6 separate regions of the Homo sapiens genome follow, and regions 1, 2, 3, 5 and 6 are each linked to region 4. Evidence: promoter capture Hi-C in 16 types of primary human blood cells and fetal thymus (Javierre and others, 2016). All regions are on one chromosome and are shown on one strand. The core of a region is centred on a gene start or on the middle of the fragment in contact, and the rest is flanking DNA. Distances in the headings are between cores, read along the strand shown. Region 1 overlaps SIK3 (SIK family kinase 3). Region 2 overlaps SIK3 (SIK family kinase 3). Region 3 overlaps SIK3 (SIK family kinase 3). Region 4 holds the start of APOA1 (apolipoprotein A1). Region 5 overlaps SIK3 (SIK family kinase 3). Region 6 overlaps SIK3 (SIK family kinase 3).

Region 1 (3,737 bases), core at 1,233-3,732, 140 kb after region 4:
TTAATACTGTACAGCCTTCTGAGACCCTGAGCAGAGGGCTCAGCTAAGCCATGCCAGGACTCAAGACCCATGGAAACTGTAAGACAGTAAATGTGTGCTGCTTTAAGCTGCTAAATTTGTGGCAGGTTGCTACATAGTAATAGAAAACTAACAGCTCATGGTTCTTTATAAGGTAGACAACTATCATCTCCAAGAAATTCTAGGCCAAGGAAATCTCTTCCATAATTTATAGTACAGAACTGTAGCAGTTTCAAGCAAGAGTTCAAGCATGTGAACAAAACTAAAGCTCTTTCTTGAGAAAAGCTTTGCTTTAGCCTTACTTGTAGAGATTCCAGCAAACTCTGTGTAAACATAGGTAAGCTCTCCACTGGAAAAGTAAATATGTCAGGCTCCTTAGTTTACCAAACAAAGTTACTTTTTTCAATTGCACAAAATGCTATCAAAAGCATGTGCATCTAATGACTTCCTTCCAGACAGTACATTATGAAAGGGGGGGAAAGAAAGAACTTTACAGTGGAAAAACTTGACAAACACTACCTGAGCCAGGTGATCAAGGTTAGCATCAACAGTAATAAGTCATGTTGATAGTATGTGCCCTTGGTATGATGTGATGAAAATGGCGCTTTACCTTGGTTATCTTACCACTCAAAACCTATAACCCCAATCTAATCATGACAAAGACATCAGACAAATTCCAACTGAGGAGCATTCTACAATACCTGACCAGTACTACTCAAAACCATTAAGGTCATCAAAAACAAGAAAAGACTGAGAAACTGTCACAGCTAAGAGAAACCTAAGGAGACATGGTGACTAAATGGCGTGTGGTATCCTGGACAAGATCCTGACACAGAAAAAGGACATTTTGGTAAAAACTAACGGAATTTGAGTAAAGTATGAACTTTAATAAGGATGTACTAATATTGGTCCATTAATTATGACAAATGTATCATATTACTGTAAGATAATAAGAATAGAGGAAACTGACCGTGGGGTATTTGGGACCTCTGTACTGTATCTGCAATTTTTCTACACATCTAAAGCTATTCTAAAATAGTTAACTGCAAACATCATAATGGAATGCTCTGCTCTTCTAGCACTACATTCAAATTCAGTCTTAAATTGTTTTGTTAGGAAACTTCTATTTAATGTTGGAGATACCAGACTAAACAACAGCTTTCTGCTTTCCGTCAGTTCAAGTAACCAGATCGCTTAACAAACAACATTTCTTCACTAGACTCACTAGACCTATATCCAGAATCAAAATGGTTTCCATATAAAGAACACTTTGGAACCCTTTTTTTCCCCCTTTTGAAACAGGGTCTTTGTCACCCAGGCTGGAGTACAGTGGCACGATCACAGTTCACTACAGCCTCAACCTCCTGGCCTCAAGTGATCCTCCCCAGCGACTGGGCCTACAGGCATGTGCCACCATAGGGGTTTCTGTTTGTTTGTTTGTTTGTTTTTGTAGAGACAGTGTCTTGTTATATTGCCCAGGCTGGACTCAAACTCCTGGCTGTAAGTGATCTGCCTTGGACTCCCAAAGTGCTGGGATTACAGGTATAAGCCACCGTACCTGGCCTTGAAATCTTTTTTAAAAATGTATTATTGAAGAATTTTTCTTTTAGACATAGTTTTGTGAACCTGATATCAAGTCACAGGGTATTAAGTTTTGACTTACAGTGTGGTGCTGGGAAATCGGTTTTCTCAATTGTATTTTTTCCTTTTATTTAATAATGTTAGTTAAGGAATCCATGTTTTCTTGTTGGCCTGTACTGCCAGAAAGCAAAAGCTAAGTGAACTGTGGTAGCTCTACTTAGCCTAAGTTTTCTGGTAAAATAGTATCCATCTCTCCTCTTCCCTAGACTATTTGGCCCTAATTCTTTTAAATTTGTTTTAATCTGTTGATCTTCTGTTAAAGATACCTGAAACTCTTTCTGAAAGTAGATTTTTTTAAAAATTGACAAATATTTAGCCCGAACGAGGACATGAAATTCATTAACAAGACAAATAATCACATTAGTATTTCTCCTCAGCAAGAATTTCCCTGCTTTCTTTGTATTCTAGTTATTTAAAAAAAAAAGCAGCTTTATTGAGATATTCACATACCATGCAATTCACCAATTTAAAGTGTAAAATTCAACGTGTTTTATAAATTCACAGGATAGTGCAACCATCACAATCTAACTGAACATTTTTGTTCCGACTGAAAAAAACCTCATACCTGTTTAGCTGTCACTCCTCATTCCCCCACTCCTATCCCTCCACCAGCCCTAGGCAACCACTAATCCACTTTCTTTCTATAAATTTGCCTATACTAAATATTTCATCTCAATGAGATCATACAATATCTGGTCCTTTTGTGACTTGTTTCTTTTACTTGGCATAATGTTTTCAAGGGGCATTCACCTTGCAGCATGTATCAGTACTTCATTACTTTTTATTGCCAAATAATATTCCATTGTATGGATATATTAATTTTAATTATCCATTCTTTAGTTGATGGACATTTTGGTTGTTCTGCTTTTTGGCTATTATGAATAATGCTGCCATGAACATTCATAAAATTTTTATGTGAATGTGTTTTCACTTATCTTGGGTTTATACCTACCAGTGGAATTGCTGGGTTATATGGTAATTCCACTTTTAACATTTTTTGGAACATTAAACATTTTGAAGAAATGACAAAGCTGCTGCATCATTAAATTCTCTCTCACCAGCAATGCCAGAAAGTTCTACTTTCCACATATCCTAACCAACACTTGTTATTGTCCATCTTTTTTTATTACAGCCATCTTAGTGGATACGTGGTATCTCATTGAGGATTTCATTTGCATTTTCCTAATGACTAATGATGCTGAGAATCTTTCCATGTGTTTGTGGACTAACTGCATACACTTTGAGGGGCATTACACATTGAAATCTTTCCTCTATTTTTAAATTATTAGACTTTTTACTATTGAGTTATAAAAGTTTTTATATATTCTAGATACAAGTCCCTTATCAGATGTACGATTTGCAAACATTTTCTTCCATTCTATGGGTTGTCATCAATTTTCTGATGGTATTGTCTGCAGAACAAAAGTTTTTAATTTTGATGTAGTCCATTTATCTATTTTTCCCTTTGTCCCTTCTGCTTTTGGTAGTCTATTTAAGAAACCACTGCCTAACTCCAAATCAGGAAGGTTTGCTCGTATGTTTTCTTCTCTTCATAAATGTGAGAGCTAAAACTATAAAACTCTATGAAAACTCTTAGAGAGTTTTGTGGTCCACTTGAAGTTAATTTTTGCATATGGTATAAAGCAAAGGTCCAACTTCATTCTTTTGAACATGGATATACACTTATTCCAGCACTGTTTGGTGAAAAGACTCTTCTTTCTCCAATGAATTATCTTTGCAGACTTAACAAAAGTCAAATGACCATAAGTGTAAGGTTTTATTTCTGAATTCTTGAATCTATCCCATTTATCTGTCTGCTAGGACCACATTATCTTGTTTCTTCTAGTTCTTGACATTCCAGATATTGATAGTTATCTTCCTCTGCTAAGGCTGGTGTTTAGTGAAGTTGTGTGAGCCCCCCTACAGGGCCTAGGACCCAGAACGCAGTTGTGGTGTTTTAGTAACTGTTAATGAATCAAATGAAAAGATTTCTGATTGTGGTTTAGGAGAATTTTTTTCTATTTTAAAAAATGTCAGTAGACAAATATTAAAAATTGTTTTCACAATAAACTATCAAA
Region 2 (3,539 bases), core at 228-2,727, 240 kb after region 4:
ACTCAAATAGGAGTCAGAAGACCTTGGTTCTACCTCTACTTCTGCCACTTTACTAGTTATGAAGTGATAAAATGTTGTACTTACCTTACAGGAAGGCTCAAATAGACATTTATGAACATGTTCTATAGATGTATTATTATTATAAGTATAGCAAGTTTCTATTATGACAATATTTACTTGTCAATATAAAACCCTAACATATTTTTTTAAATCCTCTAGCATTGTTTTATTAGCAACAGCTTAGAAACAACTCAAGGCCAGGCGTGGTGGCTCACGCCTGTAATCCCAGCACTTTGGGAGGCCCAGGCAGGAGGATTCCCTGAGGTCAGGAGTTTGGGACCAGTCTAGCCAACATGGTGAAACCCTGTCTCTACTAAAAATACAAAAAAAAATTAGCCAGGTGTGGTGGCATGAGCCTGTAATCCCAGCTACTGAGGGGACTGAGGCAGGGAAATTGCTTGAACCAGGGAGGTGGAGGTTGCAGTGAGTCAAGATCGCGCCATTGCACTCCAGCCTGGGTGACAGAGAGAGACTCCGTCTCAAAACAAAAAAAAAAAACAACTCAAATGAAATATCTAAAAAATATATATAATACATCCTTTCATTGGAATACCACGTAGCTTTTTTAACATTAGATACGAGAGTGAAAAAAGTAAGATGCAGACTATTGTATATTATTTACTATAATTTGTGTTAAAAGAGGAAATAAGTAGTAGATATTTACATTTACTTCTATACACATAAACTATCTCAAGACATATAAGACACAGATAATATCAACTGCCCCTGGGAAGGGAAATCTGGATGATCATGGGGTATGTGTGAACAGGATACTTTTCACTGTATTTCACTCTTCTTTAGCTTTTATGATTTTGAACCTAATAGTTCCCTAAATGGGGTAGGCATAGCATCTCCTCATACAACTATAAACCTGAGAAATAAGCTGAACCATTAATGAGGATGACAGCATATCTGACAACTCATTTCCTGGGCCAGCCTCAAACTCACAATTACCACCACCTAAAACAAATTACATTCCCTTCCATGATCTCACCAAGTAACAAGAGTTAATTTATTCCTTCTAGGCAAACTTCCTGACTTGCTATACGTATCTATGTGCTATGTATATCCACATTCTATGTTATTGATTATTTTTTTTTCTTTTTTTTTTTTTTTGAGGAATCTCAGCTCTGCTGCCCAGGCTGGAGTGCAGTGGCACGATCTCGGCTCACTGCAAGCTCCGCCTCCCAGGTTCACGCCATTCTCCTGCTTCAGCCTCCCAAGGAGCTGGGACTACAGGTGCCCGCCACCACACCTGGCTAATTTTTTTTTTATTTTTAGTAGAGATGGGGTTTCACAGTGTTAGCCAAGATGGTCTCGATCTCCTGACCTTATGATCTGCCCACATTGGCTCCCAAAGTGCTGGGATTATAGGCGTGAGCCACCAAGCCTGGCTTTTTTTTTTTTTTTTTTTTTTTTTTGAGACAGTTTTTTGCTCTTGTTGCCCAGGCTGGAGTGCAATGCACGATCTCGGCTCACTGCAACCTCCACCTCCTGGGTTCAAGCAATTCTCCTGCCTCAGCCTCTCTAGTAGCTGGGATTACAGGCGCCTGCCACCATGGCTGGCTAATTTTTGCATATTTAGTAGAGACGGGGTTTCACCATGTTGGCCAGGCTGGTCTCCAACTCCTGATCTTAGGTGATCCACCCACCACAGCCTCCCAAAGTGCTGGGATTACAGGTGTGAGCCACTGCACCCGGCCAGTTACTGATACTCGTAAAACTTACCGTTGCAGGGTTCCATCACAAGCCTTGGAAGAGCTCTCTAAATCAGAACACTTCCTACCTTCAGGGCCTGTTGAGGATCCATTCCAATGCTAACTTTTCTGAACCAAGGACTGAGTTCTCCCTCTTAATCACTCAAGATTCACCACAGGACCCCAGCAAATCATTAATTTGAACTCCAATGATTAAATGAGCACAATGCAGACCATCCCCCTATTTACAGAAGAGTAAATTATGTTAATTTCTTCAATTTAGCAGAAAGGCATTCTTCCGAAACCTTTCAGAACAACTGTTATTTACCAATTTACCAAGGCAACATTCTCCCAAAATAAAATTTTAAATGATATTGCCTTAAACACAATTTTTTTTTTTTCGAGATGGAGTCTCACTCTGTCACCCAGGCTGCAGTGCAGTGGCGCGATCTTGGCTCACTGCAACCTCCACCTCCCGGGTTCAAGCAATTCTCTGCCTCAGACTCCCAAGTAGCTGGGATTACAGGCACCCGCTAATTACCATACCCGGCTAATTTTTGTATTTTTATTTTGTATTTTTAGTAGAGACGGGGTTTCACCATATTGGCCAGGCTGGTCTTGAACTCCTGACCTCATGATCCACCCGCCTCGGCCTCCCAAAGTACTGAGATTACAGGCATGAGCCACTGCACCCGGCTGCCTTAAACATAATTTTAATTATTCTGGAATGAGACCAGGTGTGGCTGCTCATGCCTATAATTCCAGTGCTTTGGAAGGCCAAGGTAGGATAACTGCTTCAGGCCAGGAGTTTGAGACCAGCCTAGGCAACAAACCGAGACACTGTCTATACTAAAAATAAAACCACTAGCCAAGTGCAATGGTGTGTGTCTGTAGTCCTAGCTATTCAGGAAACTGAGATGGGAGGATCACTTGAGCCCAGGAGTTTGAGGTGACTGTGAGCTACAATCACACCACACTGCACTCTGGCCTGGTCAACAGAGCAAGACCCTGTCTCTAAACAAAACCAAAAAACCATTCTGGAATGACATGACAGGACATGAAACACTGCTCAAAACAGCAGCTAATGCTACCTCCATTCTTGCTCCCTATGGCAAGCAGGTTATTTTTGGACCTAGCCTATGAAGCAGCACTTTGTTGACTATGAGCTTCATCCTCTGAATATTCCTTTCACATTCAACCTTGGTCCTCGCTTTCTGGTGCCGAGCTCCAAAACCTCAATGGAATACATAATGAAATGTTGGGTTACTTTAGGGCAAAAGGTTAAGCCTACAAAAGCTTTCTAATTGGGAAATCTCTTCCATGAAAGCATACAGAAATTTGCTGACTCTTTCTTTTCCTAATAGCTATTTGCTTTCTTTGGAAAAAATCTTCAGTCAAACACAAAAGCCAACTACCTAGCAAAGCTCAAATACAGACAGGTGTTTTGCAAGCACAGTAAATCTCAAGGGTAACAAATCAACAAGAGATAATATCTACTAATAAGCTGCTTATTGCTGTGCTGGGAGAGTTAACTGCCTAAAAATCTCTCAGTTAAGACTAGCATTGAGGAAAAAAAAAATTGTAATACAACTAAAAGAAAAACAAGCTCATTTTCTACCCAGAGAAAATGTGCAAAGGGAAGAACCCCTGTAAGTCAACTATTCTGCTACATAAAAACCTTTTATTCCAGAGTTATTTTCAGTGTCACTTAATTCCAGGGTGGAGACTAAGGGTCCCAAACAAACCTGTGTGTGTATGTGTGTATTTTTCTAGCTTAATAAT
Region 3 (3,547 bases), core at 601-3,100, 210 kb after region 4:
TTCTTCTTGATCTCTATATCCTTTGCGGCACTATTCAAAAGTTTTGCTCACATACCTGCTAAAACAAATTTAATGGGGGGAAAAAGGTGTCTCCTTGAATATTCTTAGGTTGACATCTAAAATTTTCATTACAAGTTTTAATCACTGCAAAGGTTATATTTTCATTTATATATCAATCTATGTCTATTTAGAACTGACACCTAAAAACACTATTATATTGCTAATTTTAAAGCTATTAAACCTACTATATTGGTGAGGCAAAGTGGCTCACGCCCATAATCCCAGCACTTTGGGAGGTGGAAGGAGGTGGATCACTTGGGCCAAGGAGTTCAAGACCAGCCTGAGCCACATGGCAAAACCCCGTCTCTACAAAAAAATACAAAAATTAGTCACACACGGTGGTACTCGCCTGTAGTCCCAGCTGCTCAGGAGGCTGAGGTGGGAGGATTGCTTTAGCCTGGGAGGCAGAGGCTGCAGTGAGCCAAAATCGCACCACTGCACTCCAGCCTGGGCAACAGAGCAAGACCCTGTCTTAAAAACAAACAAACAAACAAAAAACCCTACTGTATCACTAATTCCAATAAAATCTAAACACCTGGGCAATCTGATATCCCCCATCCTATATTTTAAAACTGTAACAGAATCTTTTTTTCCTATATAAAATGCTATGCCATTTATCGGTCTCCCTGAAACTGTATTTCTATTCTGCTTCTTCCACAGTATTTAATATAACTTTTATCATACTTTCCTTAATGAAAACATGTATATTATTGTTTATTTATGTTGGATTGTGGTATGGTTACTATTATAGTAAAACACAATCGATGAAGACAATGCAAATGTTACAAATTTTGAGAACTAAACATAAAAAGTAATTTCCTTTTTTGGAGATGCATCTCTTAATAAGATGTATGGAGGAAGATACCTTGATAAAAGGAAGTTTCACACGTGACACTAGTGTTTTGACTATCCCTTTGTTAGAATCCTGGAGGATTTTATACCTCATAGAAAGGTACAATGGTGAGATTCAAGATGGGTGAAAGGTATGGCTGTCTTCTGTTAATCATAAGAAGGCACAGGGCTAAAGGGAGGGTAGGGAAGGTGGACTAGCATTATATCAGTGTTGCCTTCAAACAAGTCAATTTCAGGAAAGAGTATAAATAAAATATAGAGAATCTGGAAATTTATTCTCTTAAAACAGTCCAAGCCTAGATATTCTTAGACATGTCCTCCAGTTTGAGATCATGGTTCTAAAGCACCAGACTTGGTTCATTTATCGGAACTCAGTAAATACTTGTTGCATTAAAATAGTTCAGGGCCAGATGTGGTGGCTCATGCCTGTAATCCCAGCACTTCGGAGGCCGAGGTGAGAGGACTGCTTGAGCCCAGGAGTTTGAGACCAGCCTGGGCAACATAGTGAGACCTCATATTTACTTATATAAAAAATAGTAACAATATAAATTAAATGAAATTAAATTGTTTATGAAAAAATGTTATTCAATGAGAACATCTAGATCGTACTGATTTTTTTCTAATCAAATGATAAAGTCTGTTGTGAGGATGAAGCAAGATGGTGAATGTAAAACACTGAGAACAATGCCTGACAGCCTCAGTGTGTCCTACCTGCCATTCATCTTAATATTAGTATTCTTAGGCAAATCTTATTCTTTCTCTCCATCTCCCCTACATTTATTTAAATAAGACTAAGGTCTTATTCAGACATGGAAATACGATTTATTTCTAAAACCTTAAATATAGTTCACTCTGCTAAGGAATAATGGTTCAGAATGACCATCTATACTTCATCTTGGTACTATTTTTTATACATACTATGACTTTCACATCACAAGCATACAGGTTAACTTGAGAAAAACCAGAAAGCTATTTATGCAAATAATGGCAAAAATAAGTAGGCCATTGGTGAAAATCATATTTTTGACACTTAGATGAAACCCCAGATTTATTTACCTTTAAAAAGTTAATGAAATACATTTAATTATACAGACATAAGGTCAATTAAAACTTTCCAGGCTGGACGCGGTGGCTCACGCCTGTAATCCCAGCACTTTGGGAAGCCGAGGTGGGCCGATCACCTGCGGTTGGGAGTTCGAGACCAGCCTGACCAACATGGAGAAACCCCATCTCTGCTAAAAATACAAAATTAGCCGGGCTTGGCGGTGCATGCCTGTAATCCCAGCTACTCGGGAGGCCGAGGCAGGAGAATCACCTGAACCCTAGAGGCGGAGGTTGCAGTAAGCAGAGATCGGGCCATTGCACTCCAGCCTGGGCAATAAGAGCGAAACTCCGTCTCAAAAAAAAAACTTTCCCATTAATTCATTATTAAACCAACTTCTTTCTCCCAGTATCTACTAAGAAAGGTCTATGCGGTACATATCCAAGAAAAAAATGCCAGGAACTTTGGCCTATTGAATTTAAGAGTGTCAGAACCCACGTCCTTTAAAATACTTCATGACTAGCCAGGCATGGTGGCTCACACCTGTAATCCCAGCACTTAGGGAAGCTGAGGCATGTGGATCATGAGGTCAGGAGTTCGAGACCACCCTGACCAACATGGTGAAACCCCGTCTCTGCTAAAAATACAAAAATTAGCTGGGCGTGGTGGCGCACGCTTGTAATCCCGGCTACTCAGGAGGCTGAGGCAGGAGAATTGCTTGAACCTGGGAGGCAGAGGTTGCAGTGAGCTGAGATCGTGCCACTGCACTCCAACCTGGGTTGTCACTGGAGTGAGACTCCATCTCAAAAAATTTTTTAAAAAAATACTTCATGATTTCTCTCAGTTTTTTTGTCTAGCATCTAAAAGATTTTTAGGGGTTGTCAACTCTTTAATAATATATTTATAAAAAGTAGTTGATTCCAACCACCTCCATAAACACCATATATTAGGGGATAAATTCTAGGGAGGGATATAAAGTTTAAAAAGATACTTTCCATCTGGACGCAGTGGCTCATGACTGTAATCCCAGCACTTTAGGAGGCCAAGGCCGGGAGATCACTTAAGGTCAGGAGTTCGAGACCAGCCTGGCCAACACAGTGAAACACCATCTCTACTAAAAATACAAAAATTACCCAAGCATCATGGTGCATGCCTATAATCCCAGCTACTTGGGAGGCTGAGGCATGAGAATGGCTTGAACCTGGAAGGCAGAGATTGCAGTAAGCCGAGATCGCGCCACTGCATACCAGCCTAGGTGACACAGCAAGGCTCCATCTCAAAAAAAAAGAAAGAAAGAAGCAAGGAAGAAAAGGAAAAGAAAAAAACCTTTTTTACCCCTGAAAATTTTATTCAAAATAGAGTTTTAAAATGGATCAGTCTAGGTGCAATGGCTCACACCTAGTCCCAACATTTTTGGAAGCTGAAGTGGAGGAATCACTTGAAGCCAGGAGTTTGAGACCAGCCTGGGCAACAAACCGAGATATCATCTCTATACAAATTTTAAAATTAGCCAGGCATAGTGGCACGTGACTGTAGTCCTAGCTACCCAGGAGCTAGGATCCTCCTCCTGAGGATCACTTGAGCCCAGAGTTC
Region 4 (3,083 bases), core at 1-2,500:
GGTGGAGGTCACGCTGTCCCAGTTGTCAAGGAGCTTTAGGCTGGAGGGTGAGACAGAAGGGTTGAGGGCTGGCCTCCCAGCGCCCCAGCCTATCAGGGGTGAGCCCTGGGTGACACCTGTCCGCGGAGGTGCAGTGGCCTAGCATTTCCAGTACACTCTCAACCAACACCCCTGCCCCGCCAGGCCATGCCCCGTTGTGCAGCTGGACCGAGGCACAGAGAGGAGCTAAAAAGGAGACAGAGCTGGGACTAGTGCCCAGTTACGTTGGTCTCCAAAGTGGGCCCTTGAAGGACCTCGCTTCTATGCCTCCAGCGCATTCTCCTCTCCGAAGACAGCCCACAGTCTTGCTGGGCAGGAGCAGAGGAGGTGGTGAAGAAGGGAAAGGGGCTTGCTACACTTGCAGGCACAATGTGGCTCTGTGATCACGCATCGGGCAGCCCTGGTCTGTCCTTTGCAGGGGACATGGGCTGTGACCCTGCCTGGAGATCCCATTCCAGTTTCTCCATCCAGACCATCTGTGGGGCCCAGCTCATCAGATATTAGGTGAGGACTCGGCCAGTCTGGCTTCAACATCATCCCACAGGCCTCTGCCCCCTACCCCTGCCCTCAACCCCAGGCTGGGTCCTTACTTTAGCTGTTTTCCCAAGGCGGAGCCTTCAAACTGGGACACATAGTCTCTGCCGCTGTCTTTGAGCACATCCACGTACACAGTGGCCAGGTCCTTCACTCGATCCCAGGGGCTCTGGGGGGGTTCATCTTGCTGCCAGAAATGCCGAGCCTGGCTCCCTGAGGGTGGGAGGGGAGACCCAGATCAGGCCAGCTGTGGGCTGAGATCTGAGCCGAAAGGCCAAGCTTGGAGGTGGGGGAGAGGGGGCCAGTGAGAAACCTGCTGCCTCTGCCCAGGAGGGTGGGCCACGGGGATTTAGGGAGAAAGCCCCCCGATGGTTGGCTCCCTAGGTTAGGGGACACCTACCCGTCAGGAAGAGCACGGCCAAGGTCAGCACCGCAGCTTTCATCCTGAAGGGCCGTGGGGGACCTGGAGGAGAAGAAGGGCCTGGCTGAGTGGGGTGCCTTCAGCATGCAGAAGCCCCGTGCTCCCCCACTCATTGCAGCCAGGTGAGGAGAAGGGCACAGAGCGGGAGAAGACCTCAGGTACCCAGAGGCCCGGCCTGGGGCAAGGCCTGAACCTTGAGCTGGGGAGCCAGAGTGACCGGGGCAGGCAGCAGGACGCACCTCCTTCTCGCAGTCTCTAAGCAGCCAGCTCTTGCAGGGCCTATTTATGTCTGCAGCCAGGGTCTGGGCTGGGAGGCTGATAAGCCCAGCCCCGGCCCTGTTGCTGCTCACTGGTCCTGGCAATGTGGAACTTAAGAGTTCAAGGATCAGCTCTGTCCCTGGGGCTGGGCAAATAGAGTGGGCAAACAGCAAGCTGCGGGGGCTGCAGGGCAGGGGTCAAGGGTTCAGTGGGGGCGGGAGGGGAGTGTCTGCAGGCTTGCAGGTCTCCCGGGTGGGGTCGGGGTTCCCTGCACTCATCCCCTTCCCCTCCATGGGAGTGTGTGGGCAGTTGCCATTGTCCATTGTGTTGGCAGAGGAGGGGAGGGGAGGGACGCTGGGACTCCTCCACCAAGGAGACTGCCTCCCCCACCACCAGCATTCCAGGGAGACTACTTCACTCCCCTCCCCCTTCCCCCGCCCTGTCCTCCCACCAGTGCTCTTCTTTAGTCCCCAGCAGGTCCTCCAGGCCTCTCTCCAAGCCTCCCAAACTGGTAAACCTGGGGAGAGGGGAGAGCCCTCCGTGGCTCCCAGACTGAGGTTTCGGAGACCTCTTGCATTTCAAAACACTCCAGAGATCAATTCGGAGCTGCCAACTTTTAATTTTGTCATGTAAAGATATTGTCCGCCTCCAAAAAACCCTCACCATCTACAGTGACCATCACTTCAAAAAGGAAAGGCTTTAACAAAAAAGGGCATAATCTCAGAATTACATTACAGAATTGAAGCCCCTTAGATTGAAGACGTCTCCCTTTGCATTGTTCACACTTATATTTGATCACGCACAGGTGTGACTGGATCTCAGCCCTTGGGAAGCCCTGGTGTGGGGAGAAGACCTCTGGGCAAAGGAAGTGGCAGGAGACCTGCTTTCTCATTTCACTTGGCCTCCATCTTGCTGGAGGAAGATCGTGGGCAAGTTATATAATCTCTCTGAGCCTCGGTTTTCTATCTGCAAAATGGGGCAAGAATGGTCAGGGTTGTTGGAGGCCCCTGAGACAGCCTGTGAATGTAAAGTGCTGTGTGTCCGTTGGTGTTTGCAGCACCATCTTGTCAGGTTTCTCCTGGAAGGCCCAGACCTCCCCCAGCAGGTTACTGATAGGACCTGAGTCCTAGAGCCTGTGATGCAGGCTGAGAGGAACTGTGACATCACTCCAGCCTCTCCCCATGCCACCATCTCACAGATGAAGAGACTGAAGAGCACAGAGGGACTTTGCCCAGAGGCTGTCATCTCTCAGGGAGTTAGAAGAAAGGCTGGACCTAGAACCCAGTCTCTGGACTTGGGATGCAGGGCAGAAATGTACCCTGTACCATCACTCCAGGAAACTCCCTAACACTAGAAACCAGGCTGACATCTCTGTTTACCAGATCAGGGAGTGGTCGGCCTCATGCCTTTCACTTCAGAGAAGATTCTGGAGCCAGAAAACCTCAAATCTAAGGGTCAGGCAGGTTCAAATCCAGCTGCCTGACCCTGGATGAGTTATGATACATCACCTCCCCACACATCAGTTTCTGATTGAAGATAATGATAGAATATGCCATCGCCCTGAGTTATGGCAGGGGTTACTGTGTGGCAAGCAGAATAACGCTCCCCAAAGATGTCCACAGCCTCATCCCTGGAACCTGTGGCTTTGCTACCTTCCATGGCAAAAAAAGATTTTGCTAGTGTGATTAAGGACCTGGAGATGGGGTGGTTGGCCTGGATTCTCCAGGTGGGCCCATTGTCATCACAGGGGTCCTTAATTATACAAGAGGGAGGCAGTGGCCTCAGAGTCAGAGAAAGAGATGTGAGGATGGCAGTGGAGATCAGACTCGTG
Region 5 (3,608 bases), core at 701-3,200, 160 kb after region 4:
AAAAGTTTATGGTAGCTTACATAAGTACAACTGGATAAAATGACTAAAGAAAAAGATTAGGAAGGTGATATTCTGAAAAGTGAGATATCAGTATACTAAAATGAGAACATTAACATTCTTAACATTTTCCCAGAGATGGCCAAATGTACAATGTAAAGAAAATAGTATACAATGAATTTAGAGGAAAAACAGATCTCATACGACCAGGACAGTCAAGAAGGGGACAAAAACGGCACAAGAGTGCCTTTGTTGACAGTGAATGTTAATTCCATTTTATTTTATTCTTAGAGATGGGGTCTCACTTTGTCACCCAGACTGCAGTGCAGTGCCATAATCATAGCTCATTGCAGCTTTAAATTCCTGGGCTCAAGCAATCCTCCTGACTCAGCCTCCCAAGTAGCTAGGACTACAGGTGCACACCACCCAGTAATTCTTTTTATTTTTATAAAGACAGGGTCTTGCTATGTTACCCAGGCTGGTCTCAAACTGTTGGGCTCAAGTGATCCTCCTGCCTCAGCCTCCAAGAAAACAACAGTTTATGTTTTTACCTCCACAGGTAGTGTATATGATAATTTAAAAAAAAAAAAAAGCTATTCCAATATGCAAGGAAAGAAAAGTAAGTAAAATACTGACAACTTTGGGAGGCTGAGGCAGGCAGATCACAAGGTCAGGAGTTTGAAACCAGCCTGACTAACATGGTGAAACCCCGTCTCTACTAAAAATACAAAAAATTAGCCAGGCATGGTGGCGCACGCCTGTAGTCCCAGCTACTCAGGAGGCTGAGGCAGGAGAATCACTTGAACCCTGGAGGCGAAGGCTGCAGTGAGCTGAGATCATGCCATTGCACTCCAGCATGGGCGAAAGAACAAGACTCCGTCTTAAAAAAAAAAAAAAAAAAAAAATTGACAACCGCTCTTGGAAAAATATCTGAAATTCCTCCTCTTAGCTATAATGGATTTGGGATGTAAAGAGAAACAAATATTTAAAATCTCAATTTCACTATCATGAGAGTCAGGGACTTCAACCATGATCTCATAAAGAAAAAAAATGGCAGGACAAAGGTATGGCTTTCACCATTTCCTCAACCAACTTTATCACTCTAATGCCTCGAGAAAGCCCAGCTAGGGCCTGGCACACAGAGGTTTCATTTAATCTAGTGCTCTGCTCTTTCCACAACTCTAAGAGCACTGAAATTTTTAGAGCCACAGAATCATAAATCTATAGGAGTACAGATATATAAATTTTTGTTTACTATAAGTATGAAATTATTGATCATACAAATATAGAAACTTAGTCAAAATCCCAAACTAATCCAAAAAGCTTAATCAAACTAAAAGTGTATAGTTAGACAATTATTTTTACTAAGTGACCCATTTTGAGTAAGTTAAGATAAAACTGACAAATACAGGTAGCCTCAAGAACAAAGGTATATAAAATCAAGGCAAATTCCAAATCCAATTCCAGATTTAAACAACTAATGAGAGTGTTTAGTTTTTACTTCAGAAGATGTATGAAAAATATAGTTTCACAAACACAAGGGAACCAAACTTGCCTAGAGTTTGACCATATTGTTTAAAATGTTAGAACAGTTCTGGAATCATAGGTTTGAATCCAAAGTTTTAAAGCATTTTGTTTCTTATCAGTTGATATACTTCACTTGTAGGTCCATCTCTTCTTTATGCTAAGTTGTACTAACAGAACAGACATTTTGTAATTAAGACATATATGTGTTTGCACTCCAACTACGGTTGTAAACTTAAATGTCTGACTTTTCTGAAACTCAACTTCAATTCTTTCTAAAAAAAATTTTTTTAATCTGTGATTCCTCTGAGCACAGGGCAATCATCAATGACAACTAAGTTTCAAATTCTAACTGCCCACTATTGAATTTAGATGGACACCTGTTTGCATCAGTTTGAAGTGCAACATATTCATATGTCTTGTGAGATCTCTTTTCATTTTCATCTCTTTGTTTTTTGTGGCATTTTGTTTTCTTTTCTTTTCTTTTCTTTTTTGTTTTTTCAGTAGAGATGGGGTTTCACCAGGCTGGTCTCAAACTCCTGGCCTCAAGTGGTCTACCCACCTCAGCCTTCCAAAGTGCTGGGATTACAGGCGTGAGCCACTGCACCCAGCCCATTTTCATTTGTTTTCTCCCTCTTCTAAACAACATTGCAGTAAATACTCTTATGACTACATTCTTGTTTTGACCTACTATTATTTCTATAAGACAAATTCTTAGAAATGAAAATCCTAAGTCAAAGAATATATACTTTCCAGGTTGTTGATACATTATTGAGACATACCATTACTAAATTATTTTCCATTGAAATCATGCCTACCTAGTCCCCAAATCCCAGAGCAACAGTGGGCATAATTTGTTTAATAAAGTTTTTCCATTATGGCAAGTAAAAAAGAATGTAGTTATAATTGCCATTTGTTTGATTGTGCATGATATGTAAGTAAGGTAAATATCTAATATTAGATATGTATATTAGATAGTTATAATTTTTTTCATTGTTGCTAAAACTTTCTATCAGGTCACATTTAGCTCAAGGGCCTATTGCCCAACCTTAATTTTAGCAAGCTTATATAAAAGGGGAAAGTACAGTATGGAATAACACTGTTCTACTATTTCTGTCTTAAAAACGACTTCCTCAAACCTAATGTTGGGCAAGATAACATCTCCATTACTTATGCTCCAATACAGAAGATGTGCACAGGAGACTTGACACAATACTGTGAATAATAAAATCTATCTGCAATTAGCTACACATTGTTAGAGTTTGTAAGTCAGATCAAGCCACTTGGGATTTGTTTGTTTTTTAACCACTTTCTTAGATATCCCTTTTAAAATCTTAAGTGCCTTTTAATGCACAGTTCTGTCATGAAGCCAAGAAATAATAAAATAAGGGGAATATCAATTCTGTCTAATGCTGTCAGATTACTAAAACATTAATGATGAAGCATCATATTAAAGTGATGTATCTTATAAAAGTAACATTAGATCCCATCAAATTATAACTGATTCATCTCTTCCTACCTTGCCCAAACCAAGCTGAAAGACAAAGTAGCTTTCAGGTTCAAGATTTTCTCTAACTTGTCCAATTTATTCAGACACTGCCAGGACCAGCTCCAAAGTGATTACCTGGTTTTTAATGAATGCATTTCTTACAGACTATTAATGTGCTTCCTGATGCCAGCATCGCTGGAAGGGAATAACTAGCCCAATGAGATCATTAGTCATTGACACCAGATTATAGTAACATTAGGAAATGACGACGGGTTGCTTAGCTGCAGTTTTCCAAATGCTGCTAGGATAAAGAGAACTGACAGTAATCACCTCCACAGAGAATCACAGACTAAATCTATCCATTAAACAGTGTTCCTTCATCTTCTCAGCAAAGGAGCTCAGCTACAGAAGTTAACCTTCTTGGCAAACATTCTTTATCTATAGGAACTAGATTATAATATCACTATTCTATCTCCCTCAAAGTTCTTCCACTCTAGTGGGTGGGGCGATAGCACGGAAACCTTCCTCTTCTCTGAGGTTTATGTCACTTGACTGTATGACTATCTAAATTAATGTCTTGACTAATTTCTAGGTCATC
Region 6 (3,207 bases), core at 351-2,850, 190 kb after region 4:
GCATGTGCAGCCTACATATAGAAGATGCTTTTTATTACTGTTAACAATATTAACTAAAATTTGCAGAATATTTATTTTAAAAGCACTTTTATTATTACTACTACTACTGTTAATAGTATTACTACTACTACTACCACCTCCCTTTTGCAAAAGAACTAAAGATCAGAGGAGGGAAACAACCTGCTTAAAATTATATCAACACTAAGAAATGACGGTAGGACTCAAACTCAATTCCTATGACTCCAAAATCTGTGACTTTTTTCTTAAAGTTAAACCCTTTTTTCATTTTTCAGCATGAAACCCTTCATTCATTCACTCATATCTTCATCTACTCAAGAAATATTTATTAAACACCTACTACATGCCAGATGCTAATCTCAAGCCCTCAGGAAACAATTAAGAGTACACAGTTCCTGCTCTAGGCGGTAGAAAGCATGTGTTACAATCTAGTATAATAGGGACAGCTTAACAACAACAACAAAAGTACACCAATGTAGGAGGTGGCAGAAAGAAGTAGGTACATGGCACAGTGGGAACACAGACAAGGAAGCCCTTAACAATTCCTATAGAGGGCTTGCTTTCCATAGGAGGTTATGATGTTACCTGAATCTTAGGATGTGAAAGAAATCTGGCAAATGGATAGAAGAAAGAAGCATGTCAAGGAAAAAAAAAACATGAGCAAAAGCATAAAGGCCTGAAAAACAATTCTAATATGTTGAGGAAACTAGCTCAGCATGACTGGGAGCCATATCAGGCATGGCCAGGGATAAATCATGAAAGTAGCCTGGAGGAAGGAAATCAAGACCAGGCTCATGGGTGCCATGCTACAGAGAACAGGCTTTATTTTACAGGAGACAGAAGACAGTGACGGTGAGAAACATGCTGACATGCATGCATTAAAATGACAAACTGGGCCAGGCATGGTGGCTCATACCTGTAATCCCAGCATTTTGTATATTTTGTTTTTGAGATTGAATCTTGCTTTGTCACAGTGGTGTGATCTCGGCTCTCTGCAACTTCCACCTCCTGGGTTCAAGTGATTTTCCCGCCTCAGCCTCCCGAGTAGCTGAAATTACAGGCACCCGCCACTACGCCCGGCTAATTTTGGTATTTTTAGTGGAGACAAGGTTTCACCATGCTGGCCAGGCTGGTCTCGAACTCTTGACCTCAAGTGATCCGCCAACCTCGGTCTCCCAAAGTGCTGGGATTACAGGTGTGACCCACTGTGCCCAGCCTATCCCAGCACTTTGGAAGGCAGATGCAGGTGGATCACTTGAGCTCAGGAGTTTGAGACTAGCCTGGGCAACATGGTGAAACCCTGGATCTACAAAAAATTAGCTGGGCATGGTGGCAAGCACCTATAGTCCCAGCTACTTAGGAGGCTGAGGTGGAAGGATGAATTGAACCCAGGAGGCAGAGGCTGCAGTGAGCCAAGATTGCACCACTGCACTCTAGCCTGAGCAACAGAGCCAGACCCTGTCTCAAAAATAAAATTAAAAATTAAAAGACAAAATGGTTTTAATGTGAAGGATGAAACTGAGGGATGGAACTAGGTCAGAAATGGGCGTATCAGTTAAGACACCAATGCAGCAGTACAAAAAATATGAGGGCCTAAATTAAGGCAGTGGAAAGGGGAGGTAACAAATTAGAGAGCTATTTTGGAAGCAGAATCTTAAAATGTAATGATTGACCAGTGGTACACAAAATTCAAGGAGAAATCTAGGCTAACTCCCAAACTTCTGGCTTCTACCACTGGATGGGTCATACTGCCATCAGTGGAGATGAAGTTAGTGTGGTTGGATAATGAGTTCAGTTTTGGATAAGGGAGTTACATTTGTGATGGCTATGTAGCATAAGGTAAAAATATCTAGTATGGTGTTAGAACTGGTTCCCAAAACTCAGCAGAGATATGGGATTTAGGAGTCATTATGATGTAAACTGTAGTTGAAGGCAAGGGGCTGGTTCTGATTAGCTCAAAGAAGAATATACATAGAGAGAAGAGGGAGAGCACAGAACCTAAGGAAACCCAGATATCTAAGGAGTAAAGAGAAACAATTTTGGAAAGCTGAGAACAGAGTTGTAGGAGGAGAGCCAAGAAAAAGTGTTTGGAAACCTTGAGTGAAGGTGAGTAACATGAACATTTATTTTCCTAGAGAAAGGAGAAATGTAAGAATATAAAAGGGGCATAAATCGAAACTATATTTCTGCAAAGTATTTTGGCAATGTATAGTTAACAAAGGCCTCTAAGATGCCCACGTCGTGACACAGTAATTCTACCTCTAAGAATGTATTGTAAGGAAGGAATCAGAAATCCTGACAGAAGTTTACATACAAAAATGTTTCTCACAGCATTATTTGCAATAGCAACAAAATGGAACTACTTTAAACATATGAAAGGAATGGTTAAATAAATTACTGTACATCCATACAACAAAGATTATGAGCCATTTAAAATCTATATTCATGGATAATTTTAAGTGATAAAAATACTCATGATATTGAGTATTGTGAAAAAAGCAAGACACAACTGCATATTCAGTTAACTATATAATATAAAAATGCAGAGGGCAAAAAAATGTATAAAATACAACAAAATGTTACTGGAAGTTATATACAGTTATTGAGATCACATGTGGTTTTTTTCTGCTTTAGCCTTTTTTCCTGCATTTACTGAATTTAATGATATTATTTTTTCCTTTAAAACAATTTGTTTTAAGACACAGTCTCATTCCCGTTGCCCAGGCTGGTGTGCAGTGGCAGGACTACAGCTCACTGCAGCCTCGACTTTCCAGGCTCAGGTGATCCTCCCACCTCAACCTCGCAAAGTACTAGGATTACAGGTGTGTGCCAGTGCACCCAGGCTTTTTAAAAATTAAACTCTATTTTGAGATATCTCACTGTGGTTTTAATTTGCAGTTCCCTAACGGCTAATGATGTTGAACATCTCTTCATGGGGTTACATGCCATCTGTATATCCTCTTCAGTGAAATGTTCCTTAACATCTTTTGCTGTTTTCTAATTGGATTACTTGGGGTTTTTTAATACTGAGTTTGGAGTTATTTATATATTCTAGACAGTAGTCTTTATTGGATATGTGGTTCAAAAATATTTTCTCCCAGTCTGTAGTTTGCCTTTTCAGCCTTTTAACATGGTCTTTAGCAGACCAAAATGTTTTAGTTCTTATGAAGTCCAACTTACCAATTTTTC

The links. The method cuts DNA at HindIII sites, captures the fragments that hold promoters and counts their contacts. A CHiCAGO score of 5 or more calls a contact.
Region 1: a fragment that was not itself captured here is called in contact with the fragment with the promoter of APOA1 in region 4 in 1 of 17 cell types (total CD8 T cells); the score reaches 5.0 in total CD8 T cells.
Region 2: a contact is called between a fragment that was not itself captured here and the fragment with the promoter of APOA1 in region 4, in 6 of 17 cell types (total CD4 T cells, total CD8 T cells, naive CD4 T cells and 3 more). The highest score is 10.5, in total CD4 T cells.
Region 3: a fragment that was not itself captured here is called in contact with the fragment with the promoter of APOA1 in region 4 in 7 of 17 cell types (total CD4 T cells, total CD8 T cells, naive CD8 T cells and 4 more); the score reaches 8.0 in total CD4 T cells.
Region 5: a fragment that was not itself captured here is called in contact with the fragment with the promoter of APOA1 in region 4 in 2 of 17 cell types (total CD8 T cells and non-activated CD4 T cells); the score reaches 5.7 in total CD8 T cells.
Region 6: a fragment that was not itself captured here is called in contact with the fragment with the promoter of APOA1 in region 4 in 2 of 17 cell types (total CD8 T cells and activated CD4 T cells); the score reaches 7.1 in total CD8 T cells.

Annotation. Positions count from the first base shown.
Region 1 is chr11:116,973,113-116,976,849 of GRCh38, forward strand. The region is part of intron 1 of SIK3 (SIK family kinase 3); the gene reads right to left. Among named protein-coding and RNA genes, the nearest start is that of SIK3, 120 kb to the right of the region's middle. The HindIII fragment of the contact is 4,363 bases long and covers 302-3,737 here.
Region 2 is chr11:117,074,386-117,077,924 of GRCh38, forward strand. The region is part of intron 1 of SIK3 (SIK family kinase 3); the gene reads right to left. It overlaps LOC124902763 (a long non-coding RNA gene), which reads right to left. Exons shown (of 2, transcript XR_007062899.1): 2 at 2,008-3,539. Among named protein-coding and RNA genes, the nearest start is that of SIK3, 22 kb to the right of the region's middle. The HindIII fragment of the contact is 3,147 bases long and covers 1-3,051 here.
Region 3 is chr11:117,046,346-117,049,892 of GRCh38, forward strand. The region is part of intron 1 of SIK3 (SIK family kinase 3); the gene reads right to left. Among named protein-coding and RNA genes, the nearest start is that of SIK3, 50 kb to the right of the region's middle. The HindIII fragment of the contact is 9,138 bases long and covers 1-3,547 here.
Region 4 is chr11:116,836,372-116,839,454 of GRCh38, forward strand. APOA1 (apolipoprotein A1) reads right to left here and starts at 1,251. Exons shown (of 4, transcript NM_000039.3): 1 at 1,234-1,251; 2 at 974-1,036; 3 at 630-786; 4 at 1-40. The coding sequence starts at 1,016. It also overlaps APOA1-AS. The HindIII fragment of the contact is 2,883 bases long and covers 851-3,083 here.
Region 5 is chr11:116,997,591-117,001,198 of GRCh38, forward strand. The region is part of intron 1 of SIK3 (SIK family kinase 3); the gene reads right to left. Among named protein-coding and RNA genes, the nearest start is that of SIK3, 99 kb to the right of the region's middle. The HindIII fragment of the contact is 1,264 bases long and covers 1,319-2,582 here.
Region 6 is chr11:117,027,974-117,031,180 of GRCh38, forward strand. All of the region lies in intron 1 of SIK3 (SIK family kinase 3), which reads right to left. Among named protein-coding and RNA genes, the nearest start is that of SIK3, 69 kb to the right of the region's middle. The HindIII fragment of the contact is 9,274 bases long and covers 1-3,207 here.